Linked DNA regions of Homo sapiens: all the other regions are linked to region 5. The links are contacts of gene promoters, found by promoter capture Hi-C in human tissues and cell types (Jung and others, 2019). All regions are on one chromosome and are shown on one strand. Each heading gives the region's core, a stretch centred on a gene start or on the middle of the fragment in contact. The rest is flanking DNA. Distances are from core to core; before and after follow the strand shown.

Region 1 (3,275 bases), core at 776-3,275, 280 kb before region 5:
TTTCTAGATTCCATGCAGAACTTTGGGGGACTAGAATACATCTTATTTTGCTGTTCTCTACTTGGATGTTGTACTCTTTACCATGACATCCAACTCTCTGTCCCTCTGATGGGTCATCATTCCAACGCTGGGTGAACTCTCTTATTTTTTTTTCTTGAGACAGGTTCTTACTGTGTCACCCAGGCTGGAGTACAGTGGCACGATCACAGCTCATTGCAGCCTTGACCTCCTGGGCTTAAGTGATCTTACTGCCTCAGCCTCCAGAGTAGCTGGAACTATAGGCGTGTGCCAGCACACCCGGCTAATTTTTGTATTTTTTGTATATATGGGGTTTCGCTATGTTGCCCAGGCTGGTCTCGAACTCCTGGACTCAAGTGATCCACCTGCCTTGGCCTCCCAAAGTGCTGGGACTAGGCATGAGCCGCTGCACCCAGCCCTGATCTTTTCAAAACATAAAATATGCTGGCTTTGTCGGTTCATGGGACCCTTTGCTGTGCTCACTATGGCCTCGGGACCACTGTCCCTGTTGCTCTGCTTGGGAAGCTTCTCCTTCCCTCCTTTGCAGAAGTGACCCCTCCTCACCCTTTAGCTCTCGGTCCCATGTCATGTTCTCAGAGGAGCCTTCTTGACTGGGGTGAAGCCCTACCAAAGGCTCAGAATTCTGTGCACCTCCAGCTTGTAGTATTTGTTATACCTGCAATTTGATGTTGCTTGTTTGATGAGTTGATTAATGCAAACTCCACGTGGGCAGGGGCCGTGTCTGTTTCACTCCCCACTATATCCCCAGAACCTAATTAATCCAGAGCCTAGAATGCTGTAAGTATTAGACAAATATTTGTTGAATAAATGGATAAATCATGAACGGAATTTTCAATGCCAAAAAAGTAGGAAGGACATAAACTAAAAATAAATAGAAAGGCCTTAAAGTGGAATATGTTCACCTTCTGAAAAGCTCATTCAAAGTCCTTAATTTTCTCACAGCCTGGGGAAAATCAGGTCAAAGAGTGGTTTCTGGGAAGCACTGTCCACCAGTGATTTGATGGTTAACACATTAAAAGATGTAAGAAGAAGGGAAGAGGGGGATAGTTTTGGCCCTTCTGGCCTTTTGCTATCAACAGGGGGGATTCACTAACAGCCTCCCTGCACAGAGTCAGAACCTGAAGCCTGATCAGTAGAGAACCTGCTCCTAACCACTGGGGGTGCACAGGTCTAGGGTTGTGAAGGGATCCCTGTGCTGATACTCCATGGCCAATTCTGCGAAGATGGAGCCCTTGGTTTCCCTGTGTCCTCTCTGCACTTCCAGAGTTGGGGTATCGGAACCCCATGGCCCACTGCACTCACCTCTTGCCCTTGTGCACCCGGCTCAGGTCTACTGAGTCCCTGCTGAACACATCAAACTCGTCATTCTGGAAGACGTTGTGGCGAGACGTCAGCAGGGGTGTAGGGTCTGGTTTCATTTCTCTGGGTGGGGGACACAGAGATCAATTTAAGGGGGCCCTGCCAGCTGATGCAATCTGCACCCCACTTCCCCCTGCTGTATTAAATCCATCGGATTTTTCAGTTCCCTTCAACAGGCACTCCTAGGACACAATCTCAAAACCTTGAAGAGGGAGATAAGCTGCTGCCTGATCTGGCCTCTGCCTGGGTATGCAGCCACACCTCAAACAAAGCTCCCCCTCATTCTCTGCATGCCATTCACACAGGGTTTCCTTCTGTTTCTTAAAAGCGCTATCCCACATTTAATGCTCGTAATAGTCGCATAAGATCAGTAGTCACAGATCACTCAACCTCATTGTGCCTCAGAGGCTGAGGAACTTGTCCAAAGGCACAAAGCTAATTTCTCAAGTTAACAAGTGATTGGTAAACATCACTTGCTCATGGAAGAAACACCCTTTCGGGCACTGGTTCCTGCTGTCCCATGGGGCCTTCAGGGCAGCAGTGGGCCAAATAAATGGTAGGTGTGATGAAAGTGAGACGCTGTGGCCATCCTCTCTCACAAATCTACTGGGAAGGTCGTAATGACAGGGGCAGGTCAGGAATGTAGGGGATCAGAAGGGCTCAACAACCCTGTGTTACATCCCTGAAGACACATCCATGGCGCTCTAATCAGCCTTCCCACAAAGTGTGGCAGGGATGTGTACACTCTCTGCCCTGCCTGGGGCAAGTGAAAAACTCCTGCGGGGCCTAAGGTTTTTATGTTTCCCCAAAGAGGGCTTTAGTTTAAATGGCTGGGAAGAGAGAACAAGCTGAGTCCTGGGCCATGAATGAGGGAAGGAAGAGAGGAAGGGGCCCCACCCCGAGGCAGCCTGGGCAGCGGGAGCCTCCTCCCACCTGTCTCTCCCACCTGTCTAGGTTGCGGTCCAGCTGGCTGAGGGTGGGGGCCAGCCGCTCCTCCAGGATATTGTTGATCACCTGCTCTGGGTCGTAGTGGTAGTACTCCAGGCAGGCCAGGATGAAGCCCTCACCAAGGTCTGGCAGCAGGTCCTTCACTTGGGAGATGAGAGAGTCCAGTTCCACCCCACACATGGCAGGGCCCACAGCCGCGGCTGCTCCCATGCACTGTAGTGAGAGCCAGAGCCAAGAAGGGGAAGGCTAAGTGGGCCGGTGATAGGGCCACAGGCCCCAGACAGCACTGGACTAGGCATCAGGGATCTGGTTCAAGTCCTGGGATTACCCCTCCTGCCTGTGGGAACTTTGTCAAGTGACTCAAGTCTCTCTGAGCCTCCATTTCCTTCTCTGTGAAAAAGGGGGCTCGTGATTGTTATGATTATTGCATGCCTGTATCAAAATATCTCATGTAACCTATAAATATATACACCTACTACATATCCAGGAAAATAAACAAAAAAAAAAAATAAAAAAAATTTAAGGCCGGGTACAGTGGCTCATACCTATAATCCCAGCACTTTGGGAGGCTGAGGCAAGAGAATTACTTGAGCTCAGGAGTTAGACCAGCCTGAGCAACACAGCAAGACCCCATCTGTTCAAAAAATTTAAAAAAGTAGCCAGGTGGCCGGGTGTGGTGGCTCATGCCTGTAATCCTAGCACTTTGGGAGGCCGAGACGGGTGGACTGCCTGAGCTCAGGAGTTTGAGACCAGCCTGGGCAACACAGTGAAACCCTGTCTCTACTAAAAAAATTAGCCAGGCGTGGTGGCATGCGCCTGTGGTCCCAGCTACTTAGGAGGCTGAGGTGGGAGGATTACTTGATCCCAGAAGGTCGAGGCTGCAGTGAGCTTGATCAAGCCACTGCACTCCAGCCTGGGTGACAGAGCAA
Region 2 (3,546 bases), core at 487-2,986, 510 kb after region 5:
TATTGTCTTGTATAACCATCTGGATGCCTGTGGTGCTAAGATGCTGCCTCACACCCACATTTCTGTATCCCTCACACTTCTGTATCCCTCGATAGAGACAATCAGTGCACTGTAACAAATACCCTGCAAGCTAACAAGCATGTCGTTTCCAAACAAGATCTTCCTCTGGACTAAGACAGCAGGGGCCTCTTTGGCTAGGTTCAGCTCTAAAGAGACAAACCTGTTAGTCTCCCACAGGTACGTTTACTAATAACATCATAGTCATGAAACATACCCTTCATTCATTCTTTCCTTTAGACATTAATTGTCTATTAGGTATTAGGCCCATGCTAAGTCTTGGAGGTATAAAGATGAGTTTCAGACTGCCTTAAGAAGTTGAGTTTTCATTTATAGCGTTTTCCATTACCTTATGCCACACTTATCTCTGTCACCATGCTTATCCTTATAAATGTTAAGGGAATAAATAGTTCTCAATGGGGTACTCCCTGGGTATGTGCTGGGGGGAGGAGAGTTCAGCAATGTTTGGAGACATTTTTGGTTGCTGGGTGCTACTGGTATCCAGTAGGTAAAGGATCAGGGATGTTGCCAAATATCCTACTACACACAAGACAATCCTTCCCACAACAAAGACTCATCTTTGTTGATTCTGGCTCTGAAACCCAGCTTTTAAAAACTGTAACGATTTTGTTACATATCTACATCTGCAACTCAAGGGCAGGTTTTCCATCTTGTATCTTTGCAGTTCCGATGGCTAGCACTGGATACTCAATGTAGTGTGTTGGGTTAAGAACACTGGCAATAGAAACTTTCACTCTGAAAGAAACACTTAAGCCAACTATATATTCCTCATTCCCATTCCCTTCCCAGTCTTTTCATGTCACTGGGCCGATTCTCCATACAGCCACAAGAACTCCCTGAAAAACTCTAATCGTGTTACTCCTCCTTTTTTTCCTACTGCACGTAGAATAAAATCCAAGCTCTACACTATTCCTACTGCACTTAGAATAAAATCCAAGCTTACAGGCCTTGCACGATACAGTACGTGTCCAACCCCAATCTTATCAGATGCCATTCTTTTCTTGGTTTACATGCGAGTCATCCTAATGTCCTTCCAACTCCTTACACACAGCAAGCCTTCCCTGCCTACTGATCTTGGCACTTGGTTTCCCTTGTCAGGCCTGCTCGCTAAGCACTCCCATGCCCCAGAACCCATCCAAGACGTTCTGATCTTTCCCATTTCAGCCGAAATGTTATGCCTCGAAGAGAACTTCCAAGACAACACTAACCAACTAATGTAACGGTGCAGTAACGGTGAGCTCTACGTAATGTTTATCACCCTTTCGGTAAATAGTGGTCCCACGGCTCGGCCTGCTTTTGGAATGAAGCTACGCTTGGTAAGTTCAACTCTCTTTCACAGCCCTCTCCACAGAAAGAACTCTGGAGTTCGTTCTCGGATTTCACTAAACGAATACTGCCATCCTTGTCCATTCTCGGACCCCTTCTCGCAGCTGATTACGGTCACGTCGATCCCGTCTTTCCAGTCTCCACGAGACGGAGCCCGGGAAAAGAGTCGACCCCATGCTCTGCCGCCCCCGCACCCCACCCCTCGGGAATCCCCACCGTCTTTCCCAATCACCTTCTTCTTCTCAAGGCCTCCCATCGCTCCACGTTGAGGAGCCGACTAGGGCCGCGCGTACAGGGAGCTCCACTTCCTCCCGCACGTGCCCTGCCAAGGACCCCGAGGACCCTCCCCACCCCACGCTGTCTGTTTGTGCGGGCTGCCCAATGAGATGCCTGTACAAGTCCAGGGAAAGATGGGGATTTCCTCCTCAAGATTTAAAACTATAGTCTGAAAAAAATCACTGAGAACACTCTTTCCAGATCTTTCCCGCTCACAATGGTTACAAACACTTTAAGTGTTAAAACAAACGTGGATATACAGGCTTTTCTGTAATCACCCTGATGACGATTCATTGACTGTGAGCCTCGTTGCATGTTGGGACGGAGAGGGGCGGAAGGCTTAGGGACAGCGCGGTGCCTTCTGGGATGCAGAGGGGCGCCGCACTCCATGGTGCGCGATAGGATTGCGTTGTCAAGGTAACGGTTGCTAAGCGTCGTCAGACTTCGGCTGCCGCTGCTGAGAAGCGGTTCCCGAGGGGCAGGGTGAGACTGCGCTGAGTTCCCACCGGCTTCGGGTTCTCTTTGGTTCATTCGCGGTTATGCGGCTAAAATAGAAAAAAGGAAGACATTTTTCCTCGCGGAGGTATAGAGATCCTAGAGGCCACTTATATTTTCTGAGCCTTAGTGGTGGACTCGTGGTATATTTAAAATGTACATTCAAGGCTGGGAGCGGTGGCGCACGCCTGTAATCCCAGCACTTTGGGAGGCCAAGACAGGCGGATCATCTGAGGTCAGGAGTTCGAGACCAGTGTGACCAATATAGTGAAACCCCGTCTCTGCTAAAAATACAAAAATTAGCTGGCCATGGTGGCACACGCCTGTAATCCCAGCTACTCGGGAGGCTGACGCAGGAGAATCGCTTGAACCTGGGAGGCAGAGGTTGCAGTGAGCCGAGATCTTGCCACTGCACTCCAGCCTGGGCGACAGAGTGAGACTCCATCTCAAAAATAAATAAATAAATAAAATTAAATGTACATTCAACATATTCGAGCTTTTAATTTGTACACATAAATTCTGTAAGTGTTCCTCAAATAATAATTCCAAGATTTATACAAATAGTCACATCACCTTGAGATGGTGCAGTCTGGAAGTAGATGCAATTTTAAGAGGTTTTTTTTTTTTTAAACGTTTCTCCCTTTTTCCAAATTCCAAATTTCGTTCGAAGATGATCTCAAAAGTTTAAATTTGAGGCTCTTGTGAATGTGACCTGGCCCAAGGACTTGGTCTTAGAACTTACACAGAGACAGACGTTAAGCACTGGTGAATACTTGTTTTGAACTATGTGACTTGCACTATCTAATTTAAAGCTAAAATTTAAAACCCAGCAATTCCACAGTTAAAAATGAGATGAAGCCGGGCACGGTCGCTCACACCTGTAATCCCAGCACTTTGAGAGGCTGAGGCAGGCGGATCACCTGAGATCAGGAGTTTGAGACCAGCCTGGCCAACATGGCGAAAACCCATCTCTACCAAAAATACAAAAATTAGCCGGGTGTGGTGGCAGGCACCTGTAACCCCAGCTAGTTGGGAGGCTGAGGCAGGAGAATTTATTGAACCCAGGAGGTAGATGTTGCAGTGAGCCAAGATTGTGCCACTGCACTCTGCACTCAAGCCTAGACGACAGAGCGAGGCTCCATCTCAAAAAAAAAAAGAAGAAGAAGGAAAGGGATGGACTGGAGAGGGTGGCAGTGGCTGGCTCATGAGGGCAACACAGGAACAGGGCTGGTGTCGTGAGCATGTGGCCTGGGCAGTCATCTCACCCTGTCCCTCACAAATCACCTAGCTCGTCCTGCACAGATAGAACCATGTTTGCAGAAAGTTGAGCCTTGTTTTGCTCACATTAATGTTGAGGGGTCACTGGAAGAC
Region 3 (3,262 bases), core at 284-2,783, 280 kb after region 5:
AGCTTAATGTCCAACTGGCAGAACCAGGATTCTAACACACCACTCTGGCTGAAGAGCCTGCCTACCCCCTCTGCCCTAATCTCGGCCAGGCCTTCAGCCTCTTTGGAATAGCGTGACTGGCCTCCCCTCATAGTGATTCTCCACACGTCTGCCTACCTGAATTTCTGAAACACAAATGTCACTATTTGGCTTAAAACACTCCCTTTTCTTCCCACTGTCTACAAGGAAAAGTTCAAATCCTAAGTAAGAATCGCATCTCCTGCCACTACGCTCCTAAGTCTATGCTTCAACACTTGTTCATTTACTCTTGATCAGAGACACCGTTTGATTCACCTCGGTGTCTTTGCGCATATTATCTGGCTATTACCTTATTTTCCCCCAATGCCTGGGAAAATGCCAGGGACACACGGGCACTTAAATATTTGTGGAAAAGGCATGGCTTCTTCAGTCATGTTCCCCCCCCCCGCCCCCCTTATTCTGAACCCAAAGCAATGATCAGCGTATGTGTTCAATAAATATTTGCTGGATGAATAAAGGATGCTATTTCCCTTCCCTAGTCACCTACCTGGCAAACTCCTATTCCTTCTTCTAAAAGAAATTTACCTCTCACTCTTGTGGGCTTCCCTACCTTAATATCCCTTCTAGCCCAGCAAACAATGTTCATTAGATTTGTACCTGAAACTTCTATCACAGGGCATATCACACCATACTACAATGGTTTGTGCACATTCGAGATTGGAGAGCTTTATTAAGGGCGGGCTGGCACTGTATCATCGATGGCCATTGGGACAACAAACATTTGGTGAGCATTCTCATATGTCTGTCTTCTCGTTAGCCTGTGAGCTCCCTAGGCAGGGACCATGCCCCATTCATTCCGGTAATGTGGGAGCCTGGCACGGTGTCTGGCTTGGGGCAGACACCGAAATAGATGCTGAGAATTAACATCCAAAGATGTACCGTGCAGGCTGGGAAATTAGCCATTACTGGGGAAAGGCTGTGGCCGGCGGCCCCAACTGCTACATAAGATCAGAGGATGGGCTGGATCAGCGCCTCTCGCACTTATAAATCAATCACCTTAGGATTTTGTTCAAATGTAGATTCCTATTTAAAAGATCTACGGCGGAGACTCCACATTTCTAAGAAGCTCCCGGCTCGTGCCGACGGGGCTGCTCCGCGGACCACTTAGAGAATCCCGTTCAGGGTGGCTCATTTCGCTACCAGAACACCACCATAGCGCGGGAAGCGCGCAGCCTCTTGGGACTTGCAGTCCCTCCAAGCCCTTCATAGCGGCCGGCCGCTTATTCCTGTGCGAGTAAGGAGCGCCCAGGCCAACCCTCCGGCTGCAGGCTGAGGGGCGGGGGAGAGGTACCTGTTTGGGCTCCGTGGGCACGGGCGGCGGCGGGGGCACCGCCTGCACGGGTCCGGCCGGCATGACTGCGACGCTCAGGGCTGCCAGTCCGCCTCGGTGTCGGTGAGCGGTGCCGCCTCAAGACAGCCTCCCCGCTCGGTCAGTACGACGAGCTCGCAAGATGGCGGCGGCCGAGCGAGTTGCGGCCGCGAAGGTACGACTGGCGCACTTCCGGGACCGTCCCCTCGCCGTGACGCGCTTCCCGCCCCTCCCCGCGGGCACCGCGGCGTCCGACGCCGTTGCCAAGGCAGCGGCCTGAGCGCCCGGCTAGGGCTTTTCGGGGATCCCGGTGGCCGCAGGCGCACCGGGGGCAGTTCCGGGAGCCGACCAGACACGAAGGCTGAAGCCGCGACGCCGAAGACAGGTGAGATGTTGTACGTCACCCGCCGGACCCCCGCCGCACTCACCTCGCGGCTCCTTTACTCCACAGGCCAGTACCTCGCTCCCTTCGACCCCGCCTTCCAAGAGCCCAGCTCCCTCCCATTGGTCTCTCATTTAGGAGAGCCCCTGTCCCCTCAGGCTCACCGCCTAAGAGCCCCACTTCCCTACTCCCTTAGTCCCCCCTTTCATTTCAGACCCACATCCTCCAAGCCCCGCTTCCAAATCCTACGCCCTTAATTCGCTTTTCCCACGGAACCTGCCTTTTCTTGCTTCCATCCCCTGCCTTCCGTAGTCCCGCCCTCAAGCCCCACTGGGGGCCTCCCTCTCAAATCAAGGCTGCTGCTTTCTTTGTCTTTCTTTTTTCTTTTTTTCTGAGACAAGGTCTTGCTCTGTCACCCAGGCTGGAGTGCAGTGGCGCGATCTTGACTCTCTGCAACCTCCGCCTCCCGAGTTCAAGCGATTCTCCTGCCTCAGCCTCCCGAGTGGCTGGGACTACAGGCGCCCACCACACCCGGCTAATTTTTTTTTTTTTTTTTTTGGCATTTTTAGTAGAGACGGGGTTTCACCATGCTGGCCAGGCTGGTCTGGAACTCCTGACCTCAAATGATCCGCCCGCCTCGGCTTCCCAAAGTGTTAGGGTTACAGGCGTGAGCCACCGCGCCCGGCCAGTTTTTAAATTTTTTTTTTTGTAGGGACATGGGAGGACGTCTCCCTATGTTGCCCAGGCTGGTCTCAAACTCCTGGGGTCAAGCGATCCTCCCGCCTTGGCCTCCCAAAGTGCTGGGATTACACGCATGAGCCATCACGCAGGGCTGCTGCTTTAGGCTTCACCCCTCACTCTCACAGATGCAGCCCTGCAAGCTATGCGGCTCGCTCCCCAGAGGCCTACCTCGAATCCCGCCGGCTTCTCTCCCTCTCCTGCGATTCCCCCCTCTCTCCTTCCTCCTCTCCTCAACTCTGGAAAGCGGGGAGCTGGCTCCGAACCTGTTCCTGGACTTCAGTTTCCTCACCTGTGAAATGAGGGAGTGATAGGAAAGGTTGCTCTCTCAAGTCTTCCCCCTCCCCCCACACACATCGTAGCTGTGTGTCATGGTTGTTATTAATGTAGAATAATGATAGCTGGGATGTATTGGTCATTTACTATGAGCCGGATACTGTGCCCAACACTTCATGTGTTACGTCATTTATTCCTTATAGCAACCTATTTACAAATGAGGACAGTGAAGTTTGGAGTTGGTAGAGTGGGAATGCAAGTTCAAGCCAGTCTTATTCCTCTACTAGTGCAGTTAGTTATTTTGCCCTCAGTCCCTTCAGTATCCCCAGGGATCCAGGCAATTAACAATCTCATGTTTGAGACTGACATCTGCCACATAGCTGGTTTTAGAGTTTCCCGTGTTTTCATGGTGGTGGCTTTGAATCTCACCAGGCACCCTGGCTGGGAAGTAGGCATCATCTTTACCGAGTAGGGTTAGG
Region 4 (3,727 bases), core at 692-3,191, 350 kb after region 5:
ACGTTCAGTGCGCAGGGAGTGAAATTCAATGCCCACCGCTAGGCTCCTCGCTGCCTCTCACTCAAGAGGCCCAAACTCAGACGGCGTCAGGGACCCGGACCCAGCAGCCGTTTCACGCCAATAGATAGGGCGCATGCGCAGAAATCCTCCTCGGCTCTCTAGCGTGAGCTTTCCCAAGGGGCCACGCCCAGCTTGCCTTCTGATTGGTCCAGCTGGTGGGTTGTCTTCCGCCATCTTTGATCAGGGCACTAAGGATGCTCCCCACGGCCTTCACAGTGACGGCGGAGACCCTGCCCCGCCAGCTGCTCAGTACGTGCCGCGTAGCCCGTGCGAGCCAAGTGTGAGTCCGGGCGAGCGCCTGCGGAGCTAGCACTGGGCCCAGAATGAGAGGGAGGCGGAGGAGCAGCGATCACGTGGTTTTAGGGACTGTCTAATAATTCCACGCCAGCATTGCCGGTGTTTCAGGGGGTGGGAACCGCTGCGTTCCCCATCAACTTTTCTCCCACCCACCACCCTCCCCAACCTACAAGCCCAGCTCAGCTTGAGGTAACTGCTGACCGGACTGTCCTATACAGCCCTACAAGACAGAGGCGCCTAGGGCTGAAAGCGGGGGCCTCCGTAGGGAGCCAGCGGGGGCCTCAATAGTTACTCATTTTCTCTACCTTTGATGAAAATAAGAGCTAATTCTTAATAAGGCCTACCGGGTATCACGCAAAAACCCTGTGCTTACTATTACACTTTGGGTTGTTGCAAAGATTAAAGGAAATAAGCCGTGCAAAGCGCTTAAGAGCTTGGTATAAGTAAGTGCTCGTCAATGTTGGCTACTCTCATTTTTTTTGCAGACGTGGGAACTGGGGCTCAGGGAGGCTAACAGCCAGTAGGCGGCACAGCTAGGATTTGAACCCAGGATTGTCTCCAACGCCGCTCAATTATACCCGCCAAGGAGTCACAGAGACTTAGTGAAGTGCACACATTGCTCACCTGGGTGAACTGAGGTCCAGCGGGGGAAGGCTTCCTCCTGTTGTAATCACTAACCCCAACTCTGTCTCCCTTGCCCGATTCATTCATTCGTTAATTAATTCATCCAACATCCTGTCCCCAAGAAGCTCAGTCTGGGGACATACTGATCCAGTTAAATGCGAGTGCTTCCTAGTTATACATGGCGACTGCTGAGAAGGGACTCCAGAGTCCAGGCACCTACCTCCCAGGGGCTCACCGTTCACTCCTCTAGCCTCATTTAGAGCTCGCATTAAGAGCACGGGATCTGGATCCACACTGTTTGGATTCAAATCACAACTTCACCACTTAGCAGCTGTGTGTTCTGGGAAAATGACCCACCTTCTCTGTGCCTCCATTTTCTCACCTGTAAAACGGGCTCCCAGGCTGGTGGGAGGGTTTCAGGTGTAAGACATGGAGAGTCCTTTAGCGAACATGTAGACTGGCAATAAACTCAATAAATGGTGACTGTTATAATTAATCCTCGGAACCATCCTAGGGAGTGGACACTATTGTGTTCCCCATTTTATTTATTACATTAATTTTTTTTTTTTTTTTTTAGTAGAGACGAGGTCTCGCTATGTTGTCCAGGCTGTTCTCGAACCCTTGGGCTCAAGAGATCTTCCCGCCTCCGGCCTCCCAAAGTGCTGGGATCACAGGCGTGAGCCAACGGGCCCAGCCTGTGTCCCTCCCTCGTTTTTACAAATGAATAAAGAGATGCTGGATAAGCCCGAGGTCACAAGCTTTGCAGTGTAGCATCCCCCAACTTGATCCCCTGTCTCTTTGGCTCCAAAACCTACACTCAGTCCTGGGAGCGATTAGCGCCAACAGCTCAGAGAAAACGTGACGAAAACCAGTCTGTAAAACCCGAGCCTGGGAGAGGGGCTTCGGTGCGCGGGGGGAATTTGCAGACGCTCCCTGCTGGCGGAGATTTCCTGACCTGTCCTTCGGCGCGGGACTTTCGGCGGGTCCCGGCCGGGCAGACCCAAGTGCCGGCGGCGGAGACTGCAGTGGAGCCAGTACCGGCTGTAGTGGCCGGGGCCGTGGCGGGAGAGTCATGTCAGAGCCGCAGCCGCGGGGCGCAGAGCGCGATCTCTACCGGGACACGTGGGTGCGATACCTGGGTGAGCGCGGGGCGACGGGCGCGGCGACCCCACCACCACTGGGCTGGAGAAGCAGGGGTCGCCGGACGCCCGCCCGGGGCCTGGAGGAGGCGGGATGATCTTAGTTCTCATTCTGCTTTTGGGCCGGAGACTGGGCTCAGACAGGGCTAGGGACTTGCCCAAGGTCACACTACCCTGGTGGGTCGCCCAGGGCGGAAGCTCCCATGGGGTGAGCGGGCTGCCCGCTCTGGCATGCGCTCTGGCTGGCTGTGGAGTCGGGATCTCCACTCCCATTTCGGTCCTGACACGCACTGGCTCTGTCTGAACCTCAGTTTCCTCCTCGGCAAAAAAACAAAAACAAAACAAAAAACAAACGAGATACACACGAGGGCCTCTCTCATTGGGTGGTGGTTGCGAGGGTGGAATGGGATAAAGCGCAGAAAGCCCTGGCACTTGGCGAGCGTCTGGTCAGTGGCGCTGCCCTCGATCACTCTGCCCCTCTGGGTGCCTGTCACCTCATTAGTGCAGTTACTCCTGGGACCAAGACCAGGAAATCTAACCAATAAGCAATGGTAACAGTGACTCAGTGCTCAGTCCGCCCTCAGTGGCCCGAGTCCGAGGTGGGCATCATGGCACCAGTTTACATCTCGGAAAGGGAGGCTCAGAGAGGTCAAGTCACTTGCCTAAGGTCACCCAGGGACTGCTTAGCTGGCTAGGATGAGAACCAGCCTGCTCCAACGCCCCCTCGTGGAACAGTTGCGAGCCTAGGAATTAAATGTTCCCTCCCCCAGGCTATGCCAATGAGGTGGGCGAGGCTTTCCGCTCTCTTGTGCCAGCGGCGGTGGTGTGGCTGAGCTATGGCGTGGCCAGCTCCTACGTGCTGGCGGATGCCATTGACAAAGGCAAGAAGGCTGGAGAGGTGAGTGTTAGCCTATTTTCCAACCCCCAACCCTAGCTCTCTTCTTGTGTGGTTCAGTCCACAGCCTTGCATGTGATAAAGTCCCTGTGGGACACTCCAGTCCCTACAACCTTGCCTAGTGCAGTCCATAGACAGTCCTGTTTGTAGGACAGTGTACCCCTGCCCCCACACTCCCACTCCCCGAACTGGATGTGGCAGACTGTACCCCACTCCTGGGTGCGGACAAGTCCACTGGCCACTTGCCCCTCCCGGTCTAGCCTCGTGCCCCTTGTCGCAGGATTTTCTGCCTCTGCCCCAGCTGGATTAAGTGTCTCTGCGCCCACCAGGTGCCCAGCCCTGAAGCAGGCCGCAGCGCCAGGGTGACTGTGGCTGTGGTGGACACCTTTGTATGGCAGGCTCTAGCCTCTGTGGCCATTCCGGGCTTCACCATCAACCGCGTGTGTGCTGCCTCTCTCTATGTCCTGGGCACTGCCACCCGCTGGCCCCTGGCTGTCCGCAAGTGGACCACCACCGCGCTTGGGCTGTTGACCATCCCCATCATTATCCACCCCATTGACAGGTGGGTACCTTCTTGGCCTCAGGGATCATCCACTCTCCAGTGATGAGAGTGGATCATCCAGTCTCCAGGTAGAGCTAGACTCTGTGAAGTGTGGGGTATGCCCACTTTGCTGGAGCAATAGCAGGGACAAGGCTGGCACTTGGCTCCTGG
Region 5 (3,578 bases), core at 127-2,626:
CTAAACTCATGTTCTCGCCAACTTGAATAGTTTTTTTTTTCTTTCCTGCAGAAACAAAATAAGAACAGGTTTCAAGTGGCTCACTCTTTCATCTACTCTCTTGGGAAATCCCCTTGGGGAGGTTCATGGGACTCCAGGAGCCTTTGGAAAGCACCACAGGATACGAAATATCTACCTAAACAGGTGAGAAACGATCCAAGGAGCCACACCCCCAACTGCTCCCACAGTTACCAGGGCAGAAAAAACTGAGATTAGGGGTAGGGCACAAAGGAGAATATATTTATGTTTTATTTGCATAATTACAAATTAATGTTAAAAAGAATGCAAAGTCAGGTCCAGGGTAGGGATGAAGAGGTTGCAGATGCCCTCAAGTATTGGAAAGCTCTGGCCTTCTGGCCTTATGTCTTTTTTCTTTCTTTTCTTTTTTTTTATTTTTGAGACAGGGTCTCCCTCTGTTGCCCAGGCTGGAGTGCAATGGTACGATCTTGGCTCACTGCAACCTCAAACTCCCCGGCTCAAGCGATCCTCCTACCTCAGCCTCCCGAGCAGCTGGGACTACAGGCGCACGTCAGGTGGCCCAGCTAATTTTTGTACTTTTTAAAATTTTTTTGAGACGGAGTCTCGCTCTGTCGCCCAGGCTGGAGTGCAATGGCGGAATCTCGGCTCACTGCAACCTCAGCCTCCTGGGCTCAAGCGATTCTCGTGCCTCAGCTTCCCAAGTAGCTGGGACTACAGGCGCGCGCCACCACGCCCAGCTAATTTTTGTATTTTTTGTAGAGACGGGTTTTCAACATGTTGGCCAGGCTGGTCTCGAATTCCTGACCTCAAGTGACGCGCCCGCCTCAGCCTCCCAGAGTGCTGGGATCCCAGGTGGAGCCACCGCGCCGCACTTCTCGGGCCTTCTTCTAACTCGGGTCCCTGGGCCCCCCAGGCTCTCGCTTCCCTCCCCTACGCCGCCCCGCGCCCGCCTCAGACCTCTCTGGGACCCGCCGGCCTGGCGTCCTGGCCCGCCCGAGCCCCACGGTCCCTCGGGTCCTAACCTCGGCGGGGCAGGCACCTCCTCAGGAAGCCCCGGAGCAGGCTGTCGTTGTATAGGTGGCCCAGGCTGGCGGCCCCTGACCGAAGGTCGCGTCGGGTCAGTGTGCAGCCCGTGGCTGAGAGGCGGCTGCTGAGGGGCCGGGCGGGCTAGGGGCCGGCTAGCCGCCGTTCGCCCCTGCTTTGCATATTCATGAAGTCTAGCGAGGCCGGTCGCCCAGGCTAGCCGTGGACGGGTCATGAATTATTCATGAGGAAACCTCTGGTCCCGCCCAGAAAGGCCTCGTTGACTATTCATGAGCCGAGGAGCGGGTTTGGGCCGGAAAAGGCCGTTGACCCCCGGTGGGAGGGAAGCGTCGACGAGCTGAGGTGAGGGCTGTTGAGACGCGAGGTCTCGGCCCAGAGAGGGCACTCGGGCGTTGTTAGTTCTGTCTTTATGTCAAAAAACAATTTTTTTTTCTTTTCTTATTACTTAAGGCTTTAAGTTGGATTTGAAAGTATCATATTTCGTGAGGGCCTAAAGTACTGTGAAGAGAATCGGGAGGGCAGGGGGCTGAGGAGGAAGGCAAAAGGGAGGCGATTTCCCCCAGAACTGGACAGAGAGCACCCAGGTAGTTTTGAAATTCAGATTTTTCTGGACATGAAATCAAACTTGCTGAGCAAGCAGCAGCCATAATGAGCCATGATGAGGCTGGCAGGGCAGACGATGTCTGTGCCCGACATTGGAGGGGGCCGTGTGTGGTGGAGCTTTGGGGAAGTTTATCTTACCTGGGTCAGATTCTCCCCAGCCATTGAGGTTTTCTGCCAGGATCGATGCCTGGTACAGGCCAAGAGGTGAGAGAGGTGGGGACAAGACACCCCGCCCCCCTTGACCTCAGCTCCCCTTTCACTTTAGTGAGGATTTGCCAATTAATCCCTATGGACTTTAGTTCCCTAAACAGAGGGAGAGAGTCTTGAACCTCAGGATTAGCCAATCGCCAAAATGTGTCCGAGTACGCAGGGCACTGGACAGGCTGTGCAGTACATCGTGTACTCAGCTGGTAGAAATGAGGGGTGGTTCTGGCCCCTAAAGGGGTTTTTAATCTCAGCAGGATCATAATCTAATTTCTCCTCCATTGGACCATCAATCTGTTGAGGTAGGAACAGTATTTTACATCTCGTAATCCTGCATGTTGTTGCCTGGCACATTGTAGTTGCCTCGTAGATGTTGAATGAATGAATAATTGAAATAGCATGAAAAAGATATTAAAAAGTCAAAAGAGCATGAACAAATACTCAATTAATATAGTGGAAGCCATTTTCTCTGAATGAGCACAGGTAGGGGAATTACCAGGGCCAAATGGAATTTGTTAAAATGGTGAATAATTTATTGAAGCAAGCTCTGTTGGAAGGTCTAAGTAATTGGGCGAACTTTGGCAAACCAAGTTCCCTTGCTTAGCCTCACTTTCCTTTTCTTTTTTCTTTTTTTTTTGTGAGATGGAGTCGAGCTCTGTGCCAGGCTGGAGTGCAGTGACGCAATCTCAGCTCACTGCAACCTCCACCTCTCGGGTTCAAGCGATTCCCCTGCCTCAGCCTCCCATGTAGCTGGGACTACAGGTGTGCACCACCACGCCCAGCTAAATTTTTTTATTTTTTTTTATTTTTAGTAGAGACAGGGTTTCACCATGTTGGCCAGGATAGTCTCGATCTCTTGACCTCGTGATCCTCCCACCTCGGCCTCCCAGAGTGCTGGGATTACAGGTGTGAGCCACTGCACCTGGCCCCTTTTCTTTATAGTTTTATGTTTAGGTTTAAATCCATGATCCATTTTGCATTAATATTTGTATACAGTGTGAGATTTAGGTTAAGTTTCTTTTAATTCTCTGTTCTTCCCCCCACCCTCCAGATGTCCTTTTGTTTCAGCATCATTTGCTGAAAAAAAGATTCTTCCTCCACAGAATTGGATCTTCTTTAAATCAAAGGGGTTGGAAGATGTCTGTGCTCCCTTCCAGCTTTAGGAATCTATTGAACCCATTTATGTTAACGTACACTTCTTTTGAGTAAAGCCATTCTTAACAACATGCATGTGTAAGGAAGGTAATATAGTTACATTTCAGAATCCAGCTATTGGATAGTGTTCACCTGATAGAAAAGGGATTTTCTTGTAAAAAACGGTTTTTGAAGATTGAGAAAGATGGGTAGAGAGCCTTCATAAATCAACTATGATTATATTTGGGAAAATGTAATAAAACTTTGGCTTTTGCTTCACTTGGAATGGTTAAAAAAGTGGTTTAGGCCTTAGTAAACTAAACAGCAGCTGGCTAATCTTTATGTGAATCTTGGACTCACACATAGTAGGGGTAAAATAGGAAGTAATTGTGCCACCATATAAAATAGGGCAATTGAAGGCGTGGTGTGGTGTCTCATATGTGTAATCCCAAAACTTTGAGAGGCCAAGAGTTCGAGGCCAGTCTGGGCAACATAGTGAGACCTCCCCCTCCACCCGCCCGCCCAACTCTACAAAAATAAAAAATTTTTAAAAATTAGCAGGGCATGGTGGTGCA

What was found. The method cuts DNA at HindIII sites, captures the fragments that hold promoters and counts their contacts. A contact is called where the count stands out against the background at its distance.
Region 1: a contact is called between a fragment that was not itself captured here and the fragment with the promoter of HORMAD2 in region 5, in 2 of the 25 tissues and cell types used here (liver and spleen).
Region 2: the fragment with the promoter of PES1 here is called in contact with the fragment with the promoter of HORMAD2 in region 5 in 2 of the 25 tissues and cell types used here (adrenal gland and heart left ventricle).
Region 3: a contact is called between the fragment with the promoter of SF3A1 here and the fragment with the promoter of HORMAD2 in region 5, in 4 of the 25 tissues and cell types used here (IMR-90 fibroblasts, hippocampus, lymphoblastoid cells and 1 more).
Region 4: the fragment with the promoter of MTFP1 here is called in contact with the fragment with the promoter of HORMAD2 in region 5 in 1 of the 25 tissues and cell types used here (mesenchymal stem cells).

What each region holds. Positions count from the first base shown.
Region 1 is chr22:29,799,650-29,802,924 of GRCh38, forward strand. ASCC2 (activating signal cointegrator 1 complex subunit 2) reads right to left here. Exons shown (of 20, transcript NM_032204.5): 14 at 2,345-2,559; 15 at 1,342-1,461. Among named protein-coding and RNA genes, the nearest start is that of UQCR10, 34 kb to the left of the region's middle. RefSeq lists enhancers at 1-41, 933-1,928. The HindIII fragment of the contact is 7,164 bases long and covers 1-3,275 here.
Region 2 is chr22:30,590,174-30,593,719 of GRCh38, forward strand. It overlaps PES1 (pescadillo ribosomal biogenesis factor 1), which reads right to left and starts at 1,737. Exons shown (of 15, transcript NM_014303.4): 1 at 1,637-1,737. The coding sequence starts at 1,660. RefSeq lists enhancers at 1,565-2,280, 1,760-2,059, 2,280-2,359. The HindIII fragment of the contact is 28,649 bases long and covers 1-3,546 here.
Region 3 is chr22:30,355,361-30,358,622 of GRCh38, forward strand. SF3A1 (splicing factor 3a subunit 1) reads right to left here and starts at 1,534. Exons shown (of 16, transcript NM_005877.6): 1 at 1,370-1,534. The coding sequence starts at 1,432. It overlaps CCDC157 (coiled-coil domain containing 157), which reads left to right and starts at 1,647. Exons shown (of 12, transcript NM_001017437.5): 1 at 1,647-1,772. RefSeq lists a silencer at 1,231-1,480 and an enhancer at 2,416-3,015. The HindIII fragment of the contact is 21,616 bases long and covers 1-3,262 here.
Region 4 is chr22:30,423,827-30,427,553 of GRCh38, forward strand. It overlaps MTFP1 (mitochondrial fission process 1), which reads left to right and starts at 1,942. Exons shown (of 4, transcript NM_016498.5): 1 at 1,942-2,120; 2 at 2,891-3,018; 3 at 3,345-3,577. The coding sequence starts at 2,054. It overlaps SEC14L2 (SEC14 like lipid binding 2), which reads left to right. Exons shown (of 12, transcript NM_012429.5): 12 at 1-1,477. RefSeq lists a silencer at 475-584 and enhancers at 2,202-2,760, 2,761-3,321. The HindIII fragment of the contact is 6,033 bases long and covers 1-2,954 here.
Region 5 is chr22:30,079,088-30,082,665 of GRCh38, forward strand. It overlaps HORMAD2 (HORMA domain containing 2), which reads left to right and starts at 1,377. Exons shown (of 11, transcript NM_152510.4): 1 at 1,377-1,404. It overlaps HORMAD2-AS1 (HORMAD2 and MTMR3 antisense RNA 1), which reads right to left and starts at 1,170. Exons shown (of 5, transcript NR_110541.2): 1 at 1,041-1,170. RefSeq lists enhancers at 833-1,530, 1,368-1,447 and a silencer at 978-1,027. The HindIII fragment of the contact is 22,926 bases long and covers 1-3,578 here.